Regions from separate parts of the Homo sapiens genome. Here region 2 is linked to region 1. Evidence: promoter capture Hi-C in human tissues and cell types (Jung and others, 2019). All regions are on one chromosome and are shown on one strand. Each heading gives the region's core, a stretch centred on a gene start or on the middle of the fragment in contact. The rest is flanking DNA. Distances are from core to core; before and after follow the strand shown.

What was found. Contacts are between HindIII fragments. The study calls those that stand out against the background at their distance.
Region 2: a fragment that was not itself captured here is called in contact with the fragment with the promoter of S1PR5 in region 1 in 1 of the 25 tissues and cell types used here (thymus).

What each region holds. Positions count from the first base shown.
Region 1 is chr19:10,514,078-10,519,342 of GRCh38, forward strand. S1PR5 (sphingosine-1-phosphate receptor 5) reads right to left here and starts at 3,370. Exons shown (of 2, transcript NM_030760.5): 1 at 3,321-3,370; 2 at 1-952. The coding sequence starts at 934. RefSeq lists enhancers at 660-1,253, 1,254-1,847, 4,715-5,265. The HindIII fragment of the contact is 14,604 bases long and covers 687-5,265 here.
Region 2 is chr19:10,806,468-10,811,793 of GRCh38, forward strand. DNM2 (dynamin 2) reads left to right here. Exons shown (of 21, transcript NM_001005361.3): 14 at 2,102-2,113. Among named protein-coding and RNA genes, the nearest start is that of MIR199A1, 8.4 kb to the right of the region's middle. RefSeq lists an enhancer at 5,216-5,326. The HindIII fragment of the contact is 9,704 bases long and covers 1-5,326 here.

The DNA.
Region 1 (5,265 bases), core at 2,120-4,619:
CGCGGTTGGTGAGCGTGTAGATGATGGGGTTCAGAAGTGAGTTGGCCATGGCCAGTCCCAGGAAGGGATCGGCCTGCAGGAGTACAGGACAGGTGCGCGCCGGGCACGCCACGTCGAGCAACAGCAGCAGGAAGAGGGGGCCCCAACATGCCACAAAGGCCAGGAGCACCACGCTGAGCGTGCGCAGCAAGGCCAGCGAGCGCGGCTTGCGACGCGCCCGGGTCGAGGTGGTCCCCGCAGTCCCGGGCCGTGCCGGCAGGCGCCGCGCGTTGGCGCGTACCTGGCAGTAGATGCGCGCGTAGAGTGCACAGATAGCGGCCAGGATGCCCACGAAGGCGAGCACGCAGAAGAGCACGTAGGCCTTGGCGTAGAGCGGCAAGACAGTGGAGCAAGCGTCCAGGCGACCCAGGCAATTCCAGCCCAGCGCTGGCAGGAGCCCGAGGAGCAGCGACACGCCCCAGGCCGCGGCTGCCATCGCCAGCGTGCGCCCCCGACTGGAGACGGGCGCGGGCCCCCTGCGCGCCATGGTGAGGCTGCGCTCCAGCGCGATGGCCAGGAGGCTCAGCACGGACGCAGTGAGTGCCACGAAGACGCCTCCCTCCCGTGCGAACCAGAGCGCGGGGGACAGTTTCAGCGTGAGCGGCCCCGACAGTAGGATGTTGGCGGCGTAGGCGGCGCCTGCCAGCAGATCCGACAACGTGAGGCTGCCCAGGAGCAGGAACATGGGAGCGTGGAAGCGCGGGTGGCGTCCGAGCACCAACAACACGGCTAGATTCTCTAGCACGATGAAGGCGCACACCGCCAGGCACACCACGGCGTCGGCGCGCAGGCCGGCACCCGGCTGGTAGCGCGCACCGCGGAGCTTGCCGGTGTAGTTGTAATGCAGGACGATGACCTCGCTCACCGGCGCCGGCCGCAGCAGCCCCGACTCCATGGGCCGCGCGCCCCAAGGCTGTTGGAGAGGCAAGATACGGTGTCAGGCCGCGGTCCCCGTAAGCACGCTCGCAGCAGCCGGCTAAGTCGTGGGAAAGGGGCCCTACCCACTGACCATCACCCCCTATACATGGTGTCCAAGGGGGAGTTCAGGATGGAGGGATAGAGTCCGTGGAGACAGACATACACACAAATAATATCACGAGGGAACAAGGTGACATAGTCCCAAAAAAAGGGACATTAATAACACATGAATGGCTGGGCGCGGTGGTTCACACATGGCTGGGCGCGGTGGCTCAGGCCTGTAATCCCCGCCTGTAATCCCCCCAGGCTCAGGCCTGAGGCAGTGGCTCAGGCCTGGGAGGCCAAGGGGGGCAGATCACGAGGTCAGGAGATCGAGACCATCCTGGCTAACACGGTGAACCCCTCCGTCTCTGCTAAAAACACAAAAAATTAGCCAGGCATGGTGGCACGTGCCTGTAGTCCCAGCTACTCCAGAGGCTGAGGCAGAAGAATCATTTGAACCCAGGAGGCGGAGGTTGCAGTGAGCCGAGATCGCATCACTGCACTCCAACCTAGGTGGCAGAGCGAGACTCTGTCTCAAAACACCCCCCCTCCCCACCAAACACACACACGGCTGGGTGTGGTGGCTCACTCCTGTAATTCCAGCACTTTGGGAGGCTGAGGCGGGAGGATTGTTTGAGGCCCAGGAGTTCGAGATTAGCCTGGACAACATAGGAGAACCCCGTTTCTACAAAAATTAGCCGGGACGTGTTGGTGTATGCCTATAGTCCAAGCTACTCAGTGGAGTCCCAGCTGAGGTGAGAGGATCACTTGAGCCCGCGGGGTCAAGGCTGCAGTCAGTGAGCATTGATTGTGCCACTGTACTCCAGCCAGGACAACAGAGCAAGACTTTGTCTCAAACACACACACACAAACACACAAGCAGGGAGTTCCAGAGACGTAACAGTAAACACACAGAACGCACACAAACGCAACACACACAGAAAGAGACACACAAATACAGCGACACACTACAAGGGCAAAACACACAGTCACACACTATCAGGGAAACTAAAAAATACATCATACAGGAACAGAGTGACGCAGGCAGAAAAACACAGCGACCAAAATTCAGTCACACGAATACAGGGTCTCCCACCCAGTGGCACAGGCCACAATTTCACAACCTCCACTCACACTAGCCTGGGGCCCAGTGCACCACACTCCACACTCTTGTCTCACTGCATACAAAGCTTTTTCCTGCCAAAACCCCCTCATCCACCCAAAACCCCATGAGAAAGTTGCTCCTTGGCCAGGCACAGTGGCTTTCGCCTGTAATCCCAGCACTTTGGGAGGCCGAGGTGGGAGTATCACTTGAGCCCAGGAGTTCGACACCAGCTTGGGCAACATACTAAGACTTCATCTCTACAAAAAAATTTAAAAATTAGCCAGGTGTGGTGTTATGCCCCTATAGTCCCAGCTACTCAAGAGACTGAGGCGGGAGGATCACTTGAGCCTGGGAGGCCGAGGCTGCAGTGAGCCATGATCGCACCCCTGCTCTCCAGCCTGGGTGACAAGAGAGAAACTCCGTCTCAAAAAAAAAAAAAAAAAAAAAAGTTGATCCTATTCACTCATTTTACTAAGGCAGAGCCTGAGGACAGGAGAGAGAATCCACAAGAGGCAAACAGACTCTTACAGAGGGGCACACATGTCATTAAACTGTAATAACACTCCTCACCTGCCTCTGTGACCTTATTAATCCCCACTTCCTTTAGTCCTAATTTACAGATGAGAAAACTGAAGCTCAAAAGAAATGCTTCGTATCGAAGCAGGCGCAAAGGTTTCCATGCTCCCACACAAACATCCATGCACAAATAGTCCCCATGCAAGTCCAGATGAGAAAGCCAAGGCCTGGGGAGGGGAATGGATCTCTTTTGCACAAGGCAGGGATGCGGACATCCCAGAGAGCTTCAGTCACACACAGAGAATCAAGGCAGGCAAACATAGACAGGAAGTCGCTGGCTCACCCATGCTGGAGGTGGGGAGCCCAAATACAGGGAGACAGGGTTACACATGCTCTGAGGGGGAGGCCAACCCCATCCGCCCAGCTTGCCCGGCAGCAGGACTGAAGTATGGAAACTTGCAGTGGCCCGGCCAGGAGGGGGTGGCCAGGGGATTCCAGCCACCTTCACCCCGTATCCCAGGTCCTGCACCCAGCTGGGGAGCCCCCAGCTTCCCCCTCCCCAGAGGCCTCCAGGAAAAGTTCGGAGAACTCCCTGCAAGGAGTGGTGCGCCTTTTTAGACCGGGAAAGTGGCCGCCAGGGCGACCCCCTCCGGGTCAGGCCCAGCCCAGCGCCCCCAAAGGTCCAGTGCAGTCCACTCACTCTGCGCCCTGGTCGTGCGCCACCCGCAGTCGCGCTGCCTTGAACCGAGTGAGCGGACGCCGCTCCGGGGGCGGGGCTGGAGCTGGCAGGCGAGGGGGCGGGCCAGCGACGCAAAGGGCCGGCGGTCGCCAGCAGTTGCCCCCTCCCCTTGGGTCCCGGGCACTCAGCCCATGGCTGCCAGCCTGTGCCACTCGCCGCGGCACCGGAGCGCGCCCCGGCGGCGACTGGCACAGGCGAGCCCTCAGCTGCCCCCTCCGGGCCTGGGCTGTCCTCCCAGGGACGCTCCATCGCGGTGGGAGGACTCGGAGAGGCGGGAAAGGGAGGGTTCTGCAGCAGGGCGGTCGCAGCCTGAGCCTCTTCTCCCCAGCGGAGGGGTCTCCTCTGTCCTGGGTGTCCGGGCACTGCGCCCTCCCATTGCCCACCCACCTGTGAACTGAGCTTCCTGGGCTGCACCCCAAGGACGCCCCGTCGATGATTCGGAGGGGTCTTCAGTGGGTTGCTTAGCAGGAGTCTTCAGTGGGGGCCACCTTAGCCTGAGTCCTCTCCCACCAGCAGATAGGTTCCCGCTGCTCCCGGGCACAGGCCCCTCCCAATTTCCCGCTCCCGCCCCCGGCTCAGGGCGAGTGGGGGTGGGGCGGGCCCGGGCAGGATTGTGATGGGAACTTGCCGCTCCTCAGATAAGGAGGGTCTCTCCTGTCCCACCCCCTGGATTCCGTGTTCCCCCGACCGATTCTCTCCCACCCTTATCGCTGACGACAAAGTGATTTACTCATTAATGGTGTTTCTGGGCTGTGTCCTTAGCAGACAGTAAACCCCAGCAATGTAAGAATTTCTTTTTTTTTTTTTTTTTTGAGACAAGATCTTGCTCTGTGGCCCAGAGTGGAGTGCAGTGGCAACATCATAAGTCACTGCAGTCTCGACCTCCGCGGCTCAAGCCATCCTCCCATCTCAGCCGGCTGAACGTAGCTGCTGGGACTCCAGTCGCTTGCAACCATGCCCAGATAATGAATGAGTGTCTCCCTCACTTCCTCTGTATCTCTCTCAGGAGGATCTCAGAGTCTCTCGCCTGCGTGTCTCTTTGTCTCTGCGTGTCTCTTTGCCTCTGCGTGTCTCTTTGTTGCTGTCTGTGATGCTCTCCCACGCCTCTCCCAGGCCACTGCTCCTCCAACGACCAGTCCCGCTGGCCCCGAAACGCCCCCACCCCGACTTCCCAGGAACTTCCAGACGGTCCCAGCTCTTCCACCCTCAGATTCAGGAAGGGAGGCTGGGTCCCGCTGCTGCGACCTTCTCCAGGACCGTGCCCTTTGCCCCTGATGCTTCAGGCCCTGCTGGCCGCGGGTGGGGTGAGGGCGCCCCAGGAGAGATGAGCCAGAGGCTGAGAATAAGTGTGGATCCGGGATACCCTCGTGGGAGGAAACTCAGGGGGCACTCAGGCCGGGTCAGGCCCCCATGTAGCCCCTTGGGGATCCCAGCCCTCCTGCCCCCGCTGTTCCCTCGGTGGGCAGAACCTTTCCTGCCTGCTCTGCTCAAAGACACAGCCAATGGGACCCGCAGGGTGGGACGGTGTTAACCCTTCAGTGCCAGGTTCCCCAGTCCTGTGGACCAAGCCAACTCCAATGGTGCCCACTGGGATGACCCCTGAAGATCTCCCAGCATGGCTGTGGCTGGCACCCAGTAGGTGCTCAATAAATGACCTCCTTCTGTAAAGGGGAAGCCGCGCCCCAGGGTGGGGAGGTGGCTGCTTCACACCTCCCAGGCGCCAATCTCACTTCTCTCGAAAATGGGGCTCTTCCGGCTGCGGGTCCCGGGCTCAGCAACCTGCCTCTCCAGCTGCCTCCCTGAACTTCTTTCCCACGAATTGGGACCCTGGGGACTCAGGCTCCAGGATCTCGACAGATGTTGGGAGTCCCATCCCTAGCTGCCACTCCACACTCCTGGCCACAGT
Region 2 (5,326 bases), core at 216-2,715, 290 kb after region 1:
CGGGGCAATACAATGAGACCTCATCTTAAAAATTAATAATAGGCTGGGCACGATAGCTCACACCTGTAATTCTAGCATGTTAGGAGGCTGAGGCGGGCGGATTGCCTGAGCTCAGGAGTTTGAGACCAGCCTGGCTAACATGGCAAAAACCCCATCTCTACTAAAAATACAAAAAATTAACCAGGCGTGGTGGCACGCGCCTGTAATCCCAGCTACTCAGGAGGCTGAGGCAGGAGGATTGCTTGAACCTTGGAGGCGGAGGTTGCAGTGAGCCAAGATTGCGCCACCGCACTCCAGTGTGGGTGACAGGGCCAGACTCTGTCTCCAAAAATAATAATAATAAAGATATAAATAAGAATTTTTCCCTTGAGCGGGGGTCTGTGACCTCTTTGAGCTTTCCAACACAGCCCCAGGGATTGGGAGCCCCTAGGTGAGAGCCGCTGGAAACTACATTGTCACTAGCAGCTCAGGGGAGCTTGGGATAGTTGAAGCCCCACACCTGGAGAAGCCCTGAGCCACAAAGGGTTGTACCTTGACATCTTAACCCAGCTAGAGGCCTTGTGAAATATGAACGGCTGTATCAATGCCTGCCTTCAGTACCTTATTATTATTATTATTATTTTGACACAGAGTCTCGCATTGTCACCTGGGCTGCAGTGCAGTGGCGCAATCTTGGCTCACTGCAACCTCTGCCTCCCAGGTTCAAGCGATTCTCCTGGTTCAGCCTCCTCAGTAGCTGGGATTACAGGTGCTCACCACAACACCAGGCTAATTTTTTTTTATTTTTTTCTTGAGATGGAGCCTTGCTCTGTGTCCCAGCTGGAGTGCAGTGGCACGATTTCAGCTCACTGCAACCTCCACCTCCCGGGTTCAAGCAATTCTCTGCCTCAGCCTCCTGAGTAGCTGGGATTACAGGCGCCCGCCAGCACGCCCAGCTAATTTTTTTGTATTTTTAGTAGAGAGGGGGTTTCACCATCTTGGCCAGGCTGGTCTCAAACTCCTGACCTGGTGATCCACCCGCCTCGGCCTCCCAAAGTGCTGGAATTACAAGCGTGAGCCATCACGTCCAGCCTTTTTTTTTTTTTTTTTTTTTTTTTTTGAGACAGAGTCTCACTCTGCCACCAAGGCTGGAGTGCAGTGGCGCGGTCTCAGCTCACCACAACCTCCGCCTCCTAGCTTCGTGTGATTCTCCTGCCTCAGCCTTCTGAGTAGCGACGATTACAGGAGCCTGCCACCACCCCTGACTAATTTCTGTATTTTTAGTAGAGACAGGGTTTCACCATGTTGGCCAGGCTGGTCTCGAACTCCTGACCCCAGGTGATCCACCCGCCTCGCCCGGACAAAGTGCTGGGATTATCATGCCAGCCTTTATCATTAATTTTTAAGAAAACCTGGACGGGCACGGTGGCTCACACCTGTAGTCCTAGCACTTTGGGAGGCCGAGGCGGGCGGATCACCTGAGGTCAAGAGTTAGAGAACAGCCTGGCCAACATGGTGAAACCCCGTCTCTACTAAAATACAAAAAATTAGCCTGGCATGATGGTGGGTGCCTATAATTCCACCTACTCGGGAGGTTGAGACAGGAGAATCACTTGAACCCAGGAGATGGTGGTTGTGGTGAGCCAGGATCACACCACTGCACTCTGGCCTGGGCGGCTGAGCGAGACTCCATATCAGGAAAAAAAAAAAGAAAGAAAGAAAAGGAAACCATAATCTTCGCAAAATTTCTGCCTATGTCCCTCCCTTCTCCCCATTGGGCAGGGGTGGGGGCGGGGACTCCACCATGTACCTTGCACGATCATAGAGCCTACTGGAAGGAAGAACGTAACCATTGCATGATTTATTTTTGCGCTTGCCGTAGGTAATACATATGTTGTTGCTTTTTTGTTTCTTGAGATAATAATGAATTAAATATTAACACCATGAATATGATTAATAGCATGTAATTTTTTTTCTTTTGCTGTTTTTTCCCCTGCTCTTCTCTTCTCCTGTTTTTGTGCTTTTCCTGCTTTTTCTTTGTCCCCTTCACGTCCCTTCCATCTCTTTTCCTTTGCCTGCTCTTCCCTGATTTACCCACAACCCTAACTTTGCATATTCAAAGGGGGAGATCCTGGTAAGTACATGCTTAGTGTGGTAGCAAACATTAGAGAATCTAGTGGTGATGGAGACCCCGCCCACCCCTAATATTCCCTGTTCCCCATCCCCTCCAAATAACAAAAATACTAAAAATCGAGCTAACCTGGAAACCCCATGCCGCAGCCGGCGCTGGACTGCACGTTGCCCTGGGTATAAGTCGACTCACACAGGCACTAACTGGACCGCCACCCTTGAAGGCGCACTTCTGCAGCCAGTTCCTGGCAGGTTTTCCTGGTTTCCTGTAGGTCAGGGATGGCAAATACTTACACACCGCCCCTGCCTCCCCTCACATCCCTGGCTGTGGAAGATCTCGCTTAAGCCAGACCAGAATTCATTCTTGGCACTGCCCCTCCTCCTTCTATCTCCTATGCAGATGTCACTCATGGATCAGAGCATATTTTTCCACATGGCAGAAATCTTGCCCTCTTGTGCCCATGGCAGACATGGCTAGTTGATCTAGCACTCTTTGCCTTGTGCCGCTCCTCTAGCACACGCCCATGGCAGACATTGCTAAGCAATCCTAGCATTCTTTCCAAATAAGCTTGCCAGCACTCCTGTTCTATAGCAGATGTGGCTAAGTGATTAAGGTATTGTTTTTCTCCCTATATGATACCCTCTTCTCTATGCATGGCAGGCATGACTAGTCAATCAGGAGCCTCTTTCCTAGATGCTGCCTCTTGTCCTCCAGATAAATTGATGAGGCTCTTCTGTTCCACTTACCCTTTCTCCTATCCTTGGCCTGTGACAGGCAACACTAATTGATCCTAGCACCGTTTCCTGCCACGCCCAGAATTCTCACCACAGTGCTTCAGGTATCTTGTACCAGTCGATTGACATGGCTCCCGAGATGAATCATATTTGCTGTCCATCCCTGCTGTGGGTAACACCTCCTTCCTTTGTGCAGAACCCTCAGCTGGGGCCCAGTGTGGGGCGTGAGATGGGCGTGAGGCCCAGTCCAGCCCAGCCCAGCGGGAAGCAGCCTGCTACTCATAGCTGAGAACTGAACCCAGCTCAAGGAGCTCACCTCTAGGCAGCCGGCCTCAGCCCGGCTCTTACACTTGGACAGCACAGCCTGGGCCTCCAGTCCTAGCAGGGGCTCCCTTTTGCTGGACATTCTCCCACTGCCAGCCACCAAGGCGCTGGTCATCCCTGCCACTGCCCTCTGGCGGGGCTCTTCTGGCAATCCCAGGGTCTTTCTTGTAGCTGAGCCGATCCTATGCCAGGGCCTCGCTGCTCCCAGGGCCTGGGTGTGCAGATAGGGCCATGGGTGGGGCAGTGACGGGAGGAATTAGTTGGCCTCGGGCTTGTGGTTTTCAGGTTCCTCATGTGTTCCCCCCAGTCCCTTTGAATTTGCCAGGCCAAGACCAGGAACCTGCTTCTCCCTTGTACCCCAAGAGGTTTAGGGGTTCCTCTTTTCCTACCAGAGGCCACATAGCCCAGCCCCGTCATGAGCGTGGCCGTGGCCTCTGGGTCTCCCATCTGTGGTTCCCATCTCTACCCGGGAGACTCAGGCCAGGACCCTCACCCAGGAAAGAGACTGGAGCAGCCTGCCAGAGGATCCCTGCTTTGCCGCCCCCTGCCTGCCCTGCCACCCATACCGCCCCATGTGCCTGCCTGCCTGTCACTGTGCACCCTAGCCCGCAACGGCCTGCCGCCTCTTCTGTCTCTCCCACCCCTACTTCCTTCTAAGCCCAGTCCCATTGGGATGTGTCCCTTGGATGCAAACCTGACTTTCTGCTGAGGCCTGGCTGCTCCCTTTCTCTGGCTCACAAGTGGTGGATGGCTAACGGGCCTTTGTTTGCCACCCACAGCTTGCAGCTCCCTAGGGTGGGATTTTGTCTCTGAACCCGTGTGGAGAAGGGCACCTCAGGGCTTCTGCCAGACGTCCTGCCCCAAGGCTTGGTGTGCCATCCCCAGCATGGCCCCGATCAGTGCCCTGGCCCTGTGGCCATGCACCCCAAAGTGTAGCGTGGGCCCTGTGCTCCAGCTCTGACCAACACTAACCCCGGCTGGAGGCAGGAGAGCCAGGCCACCGAGGGGTGTGCGGGCACATCCCTCTCCTTAGAAACCGGGCCAGGCCTAGGAGTATGGAGGCCTCACATTTCTCTGGGGGAGCACCGACAGCCTGTCTCCCTGTTTTCCCTCACCTGGTTGTCATTCAGTCATGGAACCAGGGTCTACTAAGCACTCGTTCTGTGCCCAGCTCTGGGCTGAGACAAGGCAGTGCCCCCACCCCGCTCCCCCCGGGTGAATGGAGGCATTCCCAGACTGCCAGACCTTTGGTGCTAACACCAGGACGTCCTGGACAGACCAGGAAGAGCTCGTCACTGCGTTCCCAGAGGGGATGCTGTGACCTCACAGGGGCTGCTGGCCTCAGCCCCCTCACCCACCACCAGGCAGCCCGTGAATGGCCAGATGCCAGGGGTCACTGCCTGCTCCAAACAACTGTGAGAGTCCTGTCTGCTCATCCCAGGGAGGGATAAGTCTGTACCCTTGGCCTTAACAAGGGGCGCCCGGTGGCATCTCATGCTGTCCCCAGCCTGGGCAGTGACTTCTGCATGGTCCAGGGGTCCCTGGGTACTCTTTAGCCACCTCCGTCTTCATGGCCACCTGGGGCTTAGCACTCACATCCAGCCACCAAGGAGCCGCTGGAGCTGTGGGCTGGTGGCCCTGGTTCAGAATGTCAGGCCCGGGGTGGGTCGGGGTAGTCCGGATGAAGCCCCTCCAGAGGACCGCCCCCGACTAGGACAGCATCTGGGCCCCAGAGGGATTCCTGGAGGCCCCATCTCTGGCGCTCCTGCCGTGCCGTGCCCTGCCATGCCCTGCACTGGGGGATGCAGGCCAGCCCTTCGCAGCTGTCCATGGCCATGCTCAGCCCACCCTTTGTAGCTTGGCCAAGTCTGTCAGTGCCTGGGTCCCAGGCCGCCCTGTGCGTGCCTCCGTGTGCTTCCTGCAGCTCCCAGGGCCCTCGTCCTGAGTGGGGTGGGGGGCTCTGCCCACACATGCCTCCAGCGGCCAGGGAGCATGGGAGCACAGCCCCCAGGCTGCCTGCCGTTAGTTGTCAGGTGAGTCCCTGCGCAGGCCTGGGTTCTGACCCCCACGCAGATGACAGCTACAGCCACACAATCCCCATCCATGGGGTCTCCCAGCCTGAAACCCTGATGTGTCAGTCAAAAGGATGACCACCAGG